Linked DNA regions of Homo sapiens: region 2 is linked to region 1. Evidence: promoter capture Hi-C in 16 types of primary human blood cells and fetal thymus (Javierre and others, 2016). All regions are on one chromosome and are shown on one strand. Each heading gives the region's core, a stretch centred on a gene start or on the middle of the fragment in contact. The rest is flanking DNA. Distances are from core to core; before and after follow the strand shown. Region 1 holds the start of TCP11L2 (t-complex 11 like 2). Region 2 holds the start of IKBIP (IKBKB interacting protein).

Region 1 (5,555 bases), core at 2,790-5,289:
CTTGTAGAAGTGTTGTGAAGATTAACTGAAATAGTATCTGTCAAGTACTTAAGCTCCTAGTAAGTGCCTGACGGATGTCAACTATTATTTTATTCTTATTAAAAGAAGTTACAAGTTCCGAAAATGTAATGTCATAAAAAACAAAGAAAGGTTGAGAATATGTTCCAAATGAAAAAAAAACACTTGATAACTGAGTGCAATAGGTGATCCTAGAGTGGATCCTATACTGAAGCAAAAATGCTGTAAAGGACAGTATCAGTCAATCAATAGCACTGTTAACAATATTTGAATCTACTGTCTGTTATCCAATGTTAAATATACTGAAGTTGAAATGTACTGTGGTTTTGTATTTAGGAATAAAGGGCCATGACATATACAACTTTTTCTCAAATGATTCAAATGCAAGAGAGAAAAAATAATAAAGCACATAGAGCAAAATGTTAATAGGTGAATCTGAGAAAAAGGTAGACAACATGGTATTCCTTATACTATTCTCACGACTTTATCTGTAAGTTTGAAAGTATTTCCAAATAGAAGGTTAAAAGAGAAGATGACAGGCTGAACTGAAACTTCAAGATTCAAATTCAGAACAGTCCAACCTCTTGCAGTTTTGAAATTCTGATTGTGCCCACTGCTGTGATAGCTTAAATACCACTCTATTACAAGAACTCTTCTAGACAGTCAAACTTGTCCTGATGTCCTTCTTGAACAGTGCCTAAAGAATAAAACAGGAAATAGGCCAGAGCCCTCCAGAAAAGGCAAAATAGATAATCCTTTTTAAGAGTTCATCCCTAGGTGGGTTCCCTTTTCCTAAGTCACTGGGCCATGGTTTACAACCCTCTGTGATCTTAACTCTGCCCACCTTATTCTGCAGTGTTCTCCCACTAACCCTTCATGATCTTCTTTGCGTTCCTCAGACATGCCAAACTTCCTATTTCGGGGCACTCATACCTGCTGTTCTCTGCCCCTGAAATGTTCCTCTCCCTGATCTCCTTGTGGTTGGCTCCCTATTGTCATTCAGATTTGAAATTTAATGTCACCAACTACGAGGTAACCTTCCCTGATTGCTACACTCACTGCATCTAATGAGCCAGCTAGAGCTTAGAACACCGCTAGGGCTAGAGCAGGAGCTCAGTGAGTACAGCTGCATGAACTAATTACGCCACACTCCTATTCATAAGACACCTTGAGTTTTCCTTCTTTTCTGCCTCACTCACATTACTCATATTCCCATTACGCAGTCACTTACAGTACTACACTTGTGTGCATATCTGTCTCCCACTAGATTTTAAGCTGCTGGTGGAAGCGATGACTCTCCTCTCCAATTCCCAGTGCCTACTTCAGTGCATTTGCAAGGCACCAAAAATTCAAACTAGCAAAGACCCACAGTTCCAGGAGGTTAAAGAAACTCACGTGTAGCAAATAACAACAATTACAGCTAACAGTAATTGAGTGCTTATTATTGAGGTAGTAATAAGCACTCAATAACTGTTCTATGATAAGTTCTTTATATATTTTATCTCCTTGAATCCTTATTATAACCTTGTTAGCTAATGTATCAGTATTATCCCCATTTTATAATAAGATCCTGAGGCCCAGAGAGGTTGCGTTACTTGCCCAAGGGTTCACAGCAGTGTAGAGGCACAACTCAAATCCAGGAAGCGGATCCCTAAAACCCATGCTCTCTACCACTCCAGTTTGGCTGGAGAAAATTTGGTGTGCTGCTCATTCTTTCCACTCCCACTCTGCCAAATCCATCTACCCATCACCCTGTGGACACTTGCACATGTGGTAGCAAGCTGATCTTATCCTGGTATGGCTGCTCAAGTGCTATTCTGTGAAGGGCATCACTGAAGGAGTACGTCACCCAAAACAATTCTTCACCACCCCGCTACAGTGACAGAAAATCCTCTAGGAGGGAGCCATTCTTTATGCACCGCAAAATCCCTAGTTAGACCCCACGTATTAGCAAAAAGGTTAACTGCTTACAGTCATAAACATTTTGGAGTGAAATATTCAGATTACCCAGCAGGGCCTTGAGGAATTGAACCCATCCAGTTAAGGTTAGCTCACGCAAAAAAGAAATTTCAAGAAACTTCTAGTGTGTACCATCCTTCAACACTAGATCGAGGTCAGCTGCAAGGACAAGCCTTCACATATGTGTAGTAAAGGGAAGGGAGTCAGAGGACTAAGTCTGGGCTCTAAAGAAAAAAATTGCAGATGATGTGAAAAATTTCCATCTTCTGCAAAATGCTGCTTTAGAATCAGTCTTAAATAGCAGCACTAAAGTTATTCATCCACAGCAAAGCAAAAACCATAGAGCAGAGGGATAGGGGCCCATACCATTCATCTAGACAATACTGGTCTTCATCAAGTTAGAACCAACAAAGAGCTAGATAAAAGCCAACAAGCCAGTCACTGTCCACAAAGCAGATGTTCACGTTACACGTGGCATTACAGCATCAGGGAGAAGGATTCCTGGCACTTTTCACATTTGAAAGCACTCCTCCCACACTTGCTGGTCTGTTTTGTTTTAATACCTGTGCTTCCCCCTCTGGGGCCCTCAACCTCTCACAAAATGGCATTGAAGCTGCTTCCACACATGACTGGGTATCTTCGGCCCTGGGCCTCTTCAAATCAGGCAACTTCCACTGGCTGTCAGGGTGATGCATGAAATCCCTAGAGAAGAGAGGAAAAGGACCACGGCAGGGAGCCTCCTCAAGTGGGAACCACTGAGATTAACTCATTATCCGTTGGCAGGTAAGAAGAGCAAAGTCCCTGACTGGGCTGGTGACCATGGGTGCTGAGACACCCACTGGGGACAAGGACAACTTGTCCAGTTTCTTCACAGTTAAGGTAGCAGGACAACCATCTAAGATTTCCCAAACTTAAGTCGTTTGAGTGCCACTCTTCATGACTATTTCTACGTCTCCCTCCTTACCTTTACTATAATTTAGTAACCGCGTCTCTATCTTGACTAGATTTTTGCATTTAAATATATTTATTTTAAAAGGAAACTCTATCATTGTGAAACTGCTTACTTAATGGAACAGATTTTCTTAATAGTAACGAAAACAAGTAACTATGTTCATCCATATGCCACCTCAAATCATTGCTATTACCCCCAGTGGTGCCACCTACAGTAGCAGCTTTGGGAAGCACAAGCAACACCTGAGGGTTCAGCGTTCGAGCCCAGGCCCAATCGGCTTTTCTCCACCTCTTCCCCTTAACCAAAGGTCCCGGCAAGGGGACGCAGCAGCAGTCTGCACGACCTCACCCACGTCCTCTGGCCGCCCCTCCCCTCCAGCAGCACCAGGTTTCCTGTCAAAACAAACCCTTGGGGGAGGGGACGGCGGAGGCAGAGCTGAGTGCCGGGGAAACCACGGCAACAAATCCCAAACACACGCTGCCGGGCCCGCCCTGCCTCTACCCTGGCTCAGTTCCCTACTCCAGCCCGGCCGAGGAGTGTGGGGGAAGGGGGTGCCCTGGGCCCCTGATGGCGGGATGCCGCTGGTACCTGTCCAGCAGGATTTAAACAGCGGCGAAGCGGCCTCCGAGGCCCGAAGTCCGTGTCCACCCCGACACGCGGGGCGGCCACTCGGTGCCCCGCTCCCCGCTCCCACGCGGGACGGCAGTTCGAGGTCAAACAAGGGGACGCGGAGTGGGAAGACATGAACTAGGAGCCGAGCTTGATGGCCCCTGACCCCGCCTTCCCAGGATGGAGTTCCGAGATAGGGCAGGGGAGCCTTCGGGCTGCAGCGGTGTCCCCTCCGTTGGACCTGGCCGGTCACCTCCGAGCCGGCAACGCCTCCCCCGTGATGGATACGCACCGGGTCCAGCACGTAGACAAGAGGAGAACGGCGACGGAGTGACCCCGGGTCAGGGCTCTCTGGGCGTCCCCTCACCGAGCACAGCACAGTCACCTCGAAAACTCACCAGCCCAACAAACCCCCCCAGCCCCAGTGTCCCCCCCAACGCGGTATTTAAAGGGCCCTGAGGGACTCTAGGGAGGCAGCCACGGCGCGGCCATCACAAAACCGGATAGCGGGGGGACGACGGCGCGACGGGGCAAGGGGATCCAGGGCCCTTCAGTCTCCGAAAGCCGAGCGCTCACAGACTGAACCTATTAGAGAAACAGTCTTCGTCAGTTTGAACCAGAGAGGCCGAGAACAGCTCGGATGGGAGGGTGTTTCGGATGCGAGAGGGCACGGTTCCCCCGCGCGGCGAGTGGTGCGGTCCGGGCTGCCGGGGGCGGGGTGAGAAGTGTTTACGGAACTGAGGCCGCCGAGCCGACGGGAGCGCCCGGCGTTGGGGGCGGGGCCTGCCAGGGCACTGGGGGCGGGGCCGAGTGGGGGAGCGGGGGCTGAGCGGGGGCTGAGCGGGGGCTGAGCGGGGGCTGAGCGGGGGCTGAGCGGGGGCTGAGCGGGGGCTGAGCGGGGGCTGAGCGGGGGGAGCGGGGGCTGAGCGGGGCTCTGGGGAGGTGGGCGAAGCCGCGGGCCAAGCCTCCAGTGGAGTGCCGGACAGATCCCCTGGGCTTCCAGGCGCACTGGCGTGGACCACACTGCGAGCTCCCGGCCGCGCGTGGAACATTGAGTGCCCGCACACCCCTGTCTAGACGGGGCAATCGGAACTGGGTGCCCACCAACACACTGTCCACACTTACAGAGACAACCCAACCAACAACGCTGCTGGTGGGCTTTCCCACGCACGTCAGCCACTAACCGGGTCATCTCCAGTTGCGTCTACACCTCCACATAAACACGGGTCTAGATTTGCACCTGCACGGGACGATTAGCTCCTTGGAGTCACACCCATCCAGGCCCTCTGAAGACTTGGCGTGCGTGCAAAAGATAAAGCGTCTTACTTCCTCTAGGGTTCTTGGCAGCACCTATCTCCGGGAGAAGTTTCCACCTTGGTTAATGTAAATAACCAGTCCCAGGAGGGCTCTGTGCCGTCTGGCCTGCTGCTCAGCTCCTGCTGTGGGCGTGCTTGAGGGTGTAGAGAAACAAGCTTCCCCCAACTGTTCACATCAAAACTATGCCTTCTGCCAGGTGTAAATCGGTGCTGTATTACTTGGGAAATAGTTTCATGCAGGAACTACTTACATGAAGTTTGTATAGACTAAAGTATTTCTGTTTAGTGCCGAAATTATGTCTGGATTGTGGAGGCAGATTGGCCACCACCGTTCAAAAACAACAACAACAAACAACAGGCAACATTTTAAAGCAGGGTAGAAAGTCAGTTGTTCAGTGGTTACAACACAGACTCCTCTATGGTTCCAGTCCTGGCTCTGACATTCACTATCCATGAGATCTTGGTCTCTGGGGATAACAATGATAGCTATTTCCTTGGGTTATTTTGAGGATAAAGTGAAATAAAGCATGTGAAGTGCTTAGCAGGGTGCACAGTAAGCACTCTAAGTATTAGTTATTGAAATTCTTTGGCAAACCACTGTGGCCAAACTTAGCTGGTGATCTGTATAAATTTGTATCTGTGCCTCCTTTTGCCACTTTCCTCTCTTCTCCTAAAATATACAACCTAATAATACAGGTTAA
Region 2 (5,247 bases), core at 2,088-4,587, 7.7 Mb after region 1:
GAAAATGAATGCAATTTTTCTGGAAAGCAGTAAGATATGGAATTGTTTAAAATAAGCTTTCTCTCTAACCCAGAAATCCCATTTCTAAGGATTTACTTCAAGGAGACATTCAAATACATATGTAAAAATATCCACAAGGAGAATTAATGAGTTTCCAATCAGGTGTGGTAGCTCAAGCCTATAATCCCAGCACATTGGGAGGCTAGAGTAAAAAATAAAAAGAAAAAAGAATTAATGGAGGATGTTTCAGTGATGAACGCAACCTAAATGTCCATCATTCTGAATATAGATTTTAAAAATTAGGGTATGTATATAAAATGGAATATTATGCAGCCATTCAAAATTATGACACATATCTCCATGTATTGACATGGAAAGATGTTCATAATACTGTTGCTGAAAAAAAAAAAAAAAAAAAACAGAAACATGATCCCACATACAACACATAACGTGGGGGCCGGGCGCAGTGGCTCATGCCTGTAATCCCAGCACTTTGGGAGGCCGAGGCGGGTGGATCACGAGGTCAGGAATTCAAGACCAGCCTGGCCAAGATGGTGAAACCCTGTCTCTACTAAAAATACAAAATTAGCCAGATGCAGTGGCAGGTGCCTGTAATCCCAGCTGCTCGGGAGGCTGAAGCAAGAGAACTGCTTGAACCAGGGCGGCAGAGGTTGCAGTGAGCCGAGACCACTCTACTGTACTCCAGCCTGGGCGACAGACTGAGACTCTGTCTCAAAAAAAAAAACAAGTGTTGGTATCATATGAATATATATAGACGTTTAGAAGTTTATTCATCGAAATGTTTGAGTTACTTCTGAGTAGCAAAATTTGGGATTTCTCCCCCACCTTGTCTTATTTTTTTTTTTTTTTTAGTACAGACGGGGTTTCACCATGTTGACCAGGCTGGTCTTGAATTCCTGACCTCAGGTGATCCACCCGCCACAGCCTCCGAAAGTGCTGGGATTACACTTGTGAGCCCCACCATGCCCGGCCTCTACTGTCAATTTTTTTTAGCACACATTATCATTTCTTACAATAAAATACTTCCTTTTTTAATTAAGATTGTATAAAATAGTGATTACATTGAAGTCCTAATATTAAGAGACTTCTTGTTTTCCTTATCAAACATAAGAGTGAATAGAGCATTGTTACTATTGAGTATTAGTTCTCGTTCAAGGAGGATGTCAGCTCTAGGTCCTCCTTGCTAAACACATTTCCCACAAAGCAACAGGAAACACTTTCTGATGTGATTTCTCAGACCAGGAGGACATGAGGAAAGAATAACAGCCTTTATAGTAAAATACTTGACGTTTCTAGCAACTTTATTTCAAATATAATGCAAATTTTTCCATGGGCATAAAACCCAGTTCACAATATCTGCAAGTTTTCAAAACATTAACAGAACTTTACACAATGTATAGAGTGAAAGAGTCTAAACGGGTTTATCAATTCATTCATTCAATACACATTTGTGCCCCTCCCTATATGTCAGACACCAAGACTACAGAAAAGATTGAGTCATTTGCCTGAAATAATTCACAGTCTACTCAAAGAAGAAAAAGAGAGAGAGAGTGGGAATGTGAATGCCCGAAGTGCAAAAACAGAGCACAAGTAACTTGGAGCTCACAGAAGGGGGCAATAATTATCAAGCTTCAATGACTGTTTTTGAAGTCACCAAATGTAGCACTTGGAAAAACAGGGACGGACGTAGGGCATTTGCCTATGCTTGTCAAGGCTTACAAAATGCCCAGCAGGGGCACAAAACTGATAAAAAGTTATTGATTCGAATCAAAACTCTCATTTTTTAAAATGTTAATAACGTTTTTGTCCTCTTAAACATAAAATGTTCCTTAATTTATAGTAATGAAATTCGATGTGAAAAAACAAGAATGAATGAATTTTTTAGGTGATGTCCAATAGCTAAGCAAATAAGACACTCTGGTTTTCTGAAACTAATTTCCAATTTCACCTAGTCCTGTTAAACTAAAATATGCAAATCTTAAATACGTTTTAAAACTGCACAACTTATCTGAACTAAGTCTCAAAACCTTTTGTAACCCACAACAAAATGGAAAGCCAAAACTCTTCATGGACGTAAAACAGAAAACAGCGCACGTTTATCCACGAAAACCCCAAGTTTACTACTTCCTCATTACAGAATTTCTCTTCCTGGTACAGGAGCAGGATGGTTATCAAATATTCCATGTCCTCAAATTCTCAGTCCCTGAAATCAGCTACCAAGCCTCCAAAGAACCTGGCTCGGGGAGAAAAGCGAGGAGGTCAACTTACCCAAGCCTTTGCGCCTAGGTCTTAGTGGGGAGGGCGGCACTGCCGGGACAAGACTGGGAGACTCCAGGCCGGTGGAGGGAAACGGCAACAGGAGTTTTCCACCGGGAATTAGGGGTGCAGGGCTCTGTCTCGCCACATACCCTTCGCCCCGGGGCAGGTCCGGGCCTCACAGGCGCCTCCCCTGGATCTCTGCAGCCCCGGGGCGCACGAAGACCCCCAGGGACCTCCGAAGGTTGGCGAGGTGGGCGTCCACCCAACGCAGCCTGACCCCACAGTCCCGGAGCGCCGCGGTGAGGCCCGGCCCACGGGCCGCCCTCCGGTGGACCCCACTACTGGACACAAAGGGAGGAGGTCTTCCCGGCCTGTGGCGCCCTTCCCCCGACGGCGGCTGCACCCCGGAGGGAGCCCGGCGCTACTCCGGATGCCGCTGCGGCACCTCAAGTCTTCGCGGGTCGCCGACTGCCCAGACTCCCCACCTCTGGTTCTATCCCTTTTGCCCGGGATAGAGCAGTCACGTCCACTCGCTACCTCTTCTTCTCCGCCTCTGGACAGCGGAGCAGTCAAATCCCGCCGGATCCACCCAGCCCGGACGGCGCGCGCCCGCTTATGCAAATAAACACACCCCAAGCCCCAAGGGGCGGCCACCGCTGCCGCCGCGCACTCCTGCCACGGCTCATGCCCGCGCGCGTAGAAGTGCCCGCCTACCCCGCGGACGGGGCGTGGCTAAGCCTCAGGGACGCGCCGCGTTCCCACCAATGCCGGACTCGGGCAGCGGCGGCGCGCCCGACGTGGCGCGCGCGACCCCTTCGTCCTGCCCCTCCTCCTCGGGTCCCGTCGGCCTGCGCGCGCCCGGGAGTTTGAATTTCCTCGGATTTGGAGCAATATCGCAGTGGAAGGCGCTGTGGGTTGAGGTCGCCGCCCACCTCTCCTAGGGGAACTATGGAGCTGGCAGCTGAAAGACTCAGTGAAGCAACGAGGATGCCGGGGAGAGGGAAGGGGCTGGGCTCTGGGCGGTGCCAAGTCTGTGAGGGGGCGCGGTCACCGCCCAGGGTTCCCACGAACGCCAAGGCGGCCACGTCCTGCTCCCCCTGGTGAAGAAGCTGCCCTGGGCTTGTCGTCCTAGGGTCTCCAGACATGTCTGAGGTGAAGAGCCGGAAGAAGTCGGGGCCCAAGGGAGCCCCTGCTGCGGAGCCCGGGAAGCGGAGCGAGGGCGGGAAGACCCCCGTGGCCCGGAGCAGCGGAGGCGGGGGCTGGGCAGACCCCCGAACGTGCCTGAGCCTGCTGTCGCTGGGGACGTGCCTGGGCCTGGCCTGGTAAGTGGACGCGAGGCTGCCTGGGCCGGCCTCCTGTGGGCCCCCTGCTGTTTGGGCTCCCACCCGGCTCAACATCCAGCCGGAGGTGATCCAACCTCCCAGACCTGGGCCTTCTGTGCCTCTGTCTTGACCCCAAAGGAAGGAAACAGCCCAGCCTTGTTTTTCCCTTTCGGGCGTTTCTTGTATCTCATTTCCCCCCGTGCTGGTAGCATGCCCCTATCGCTCAGAAGGAGTTGAGGCTAAGGTTTGGGAACGAGCCATTTGTTAAGAGCTGCAGATTCGGCCACGCTTTCTGAAGCTCCCGCTACACGTCAGAAGCGTTCACGTTGTTATAAACCGTTACTTCCTGTCCGCTGTGCCCCATTCCGGGACACATCTGCCCCACCCTACTCACCCCATAAATACCTAATGGAAATACTTGCAACCTTAAAACAGATCATTATGTTTGGAGACCGAGGCAGGTGGATCACTTGAGGTCAGGAGTTCGAGACTAGCCTGGCCAACATGGTGAAACCCCATCTCTACCAAAAATACGAATAATCAGCCGGGCGTGGTGGCGGGCGCCTGTAGTCCCAGTTCCTCCGGAGGCTGAGGCAGGAGAATCGCTTGAACCCGGGAGGCGGAGGTTGCTATGAGCCAAGATCGCATCACTGCACTCCAGCCTGGGCGACCGAGCGAGACTCCGTCTCAAAAAAAAAAAAAAAAGAAAACCATATCATTATGCTCCCAAAGGAGCAAACGTTATAGTAGCAGAGCTTGGAGGAGTGCTCATATTTTGATCACCGTGCATGCATTATGAATTTAAGGTCTTTTATTAAGTAAGTTACAGATTGAATATGGTAAAGCTACAAAAACATAGCACTTGTGTTCACTTAAAACTAACCAGTTGCAGTTTTAAAATCAGGTAAATGGCGATATATTGGTGTCATTAGGAAAAATGAATATTAGAAATAACCTTAAAACCAACTCGTAAAAAAAGAAAAAAGAAAAAAACCAACTTGTGAATTTTATTTTCCCAGCCTTTTTTTTTCTGGCGGGAGGAGGGAATAGCCCATTTCATTTTAATAAGATTGGCATCTTAATAGAATTTTTCTCCATTTTTCATTCATGTGTAAAGTTATTTAGTAAGACTGTTGTTAATCTTCCAGAGTGATAGAATTTTAGAAGAGACCCTGGACATCTAGACATTTTTTATGCTACTACATATGGAATTATACTTTACTGGTGACTCATCCCAAATAGTGTATTTTTCAGAGTTAAAAGATTTGTTACGGCTGGGCGCGGTGGCTCACACCTGTAATCCCAGCACTTTGGGAGGCCGAGGTGGGCAGATCATGAGGTCAGGAGTTCAAGACCAGGCTGGCCAACATGGTGAAACCCTGTCTCTACAAAAAATACAAAAATTAGCCAGGCTTGGTGGCACAAACCTGCAATCCCAGCTATTCAGGAGGCTGAGGCAGGAGAATCACTCGAAATGGGGAGGTGGAGGTTGCAGTGAGCTGGGATCGTGCCATTGCACTCCAGCCTGGGCAACAGAGCGAGACTCCATCTCAAAAAACAAACAAACAAAATTTTGTCACAATAAAGTGATTAAACGCCCTCTTCAAAAACAATAGAATTGTCAGCCTGCCGGCAGTGGCTCATG

Evidence for each region. The method cuts DNA at HindIII sites, captures the fragments that hold promoters and counts their contacts. A CHiCAGO score of 5 or more calls a contact.
Region 2: the fragment with the promoter of IKBIP here is called in contact with the fragment with the promoter of TCP11L2 in region 1 in 2 of 17 cell types (naive CD8 T cells and total CD4 T cells); the score reaches 10.5 in naive CD8 T cells.

What each region holds. Positions count from the first base shown.
Region 1 is chr12:106,301,217-106,306,771 of GRCh38, reverse strand. TCP11L2 (t-complex 11 like 2) reads right to left here and starts at 4,039. Exons shown (of 10, transcript NM_152772.3): 1 at 3,831-4,039. RefSeq lists enhancers at 3,972-4,111, 4,122-4,201, 3,376-4,261 and a silencer at 4,282-4,401. The HindIII fragment of the contact is 6,335 bases long and covers 1-5,012 here.
Region 2 is chr12:98,642,878-98,648,124 of GRCh38, reverse strand. IKBIP (IKBKB interacting protein) reads left to right here and starts at 3,337. Exons shown (of 3, transcript NM_153687.4): 1 at 3,337-3,602. The coding sequence starts at 3,424. APAF1 (apoptotic peptidase activating factor 1) reads right to left here and starts at 2,835. Exons shown (of 27, transcript NM_181861.2): 1 at 2,290-2,835. RefSeq lists silencers at 2,431-2,640, 2,961-3,160 and enhancers at 2,737-3,364, 3,365-3,991, 3,992-4,619. The HindIII fragment of the contact is 4,349 bases long and covers 1,653-5,247 here.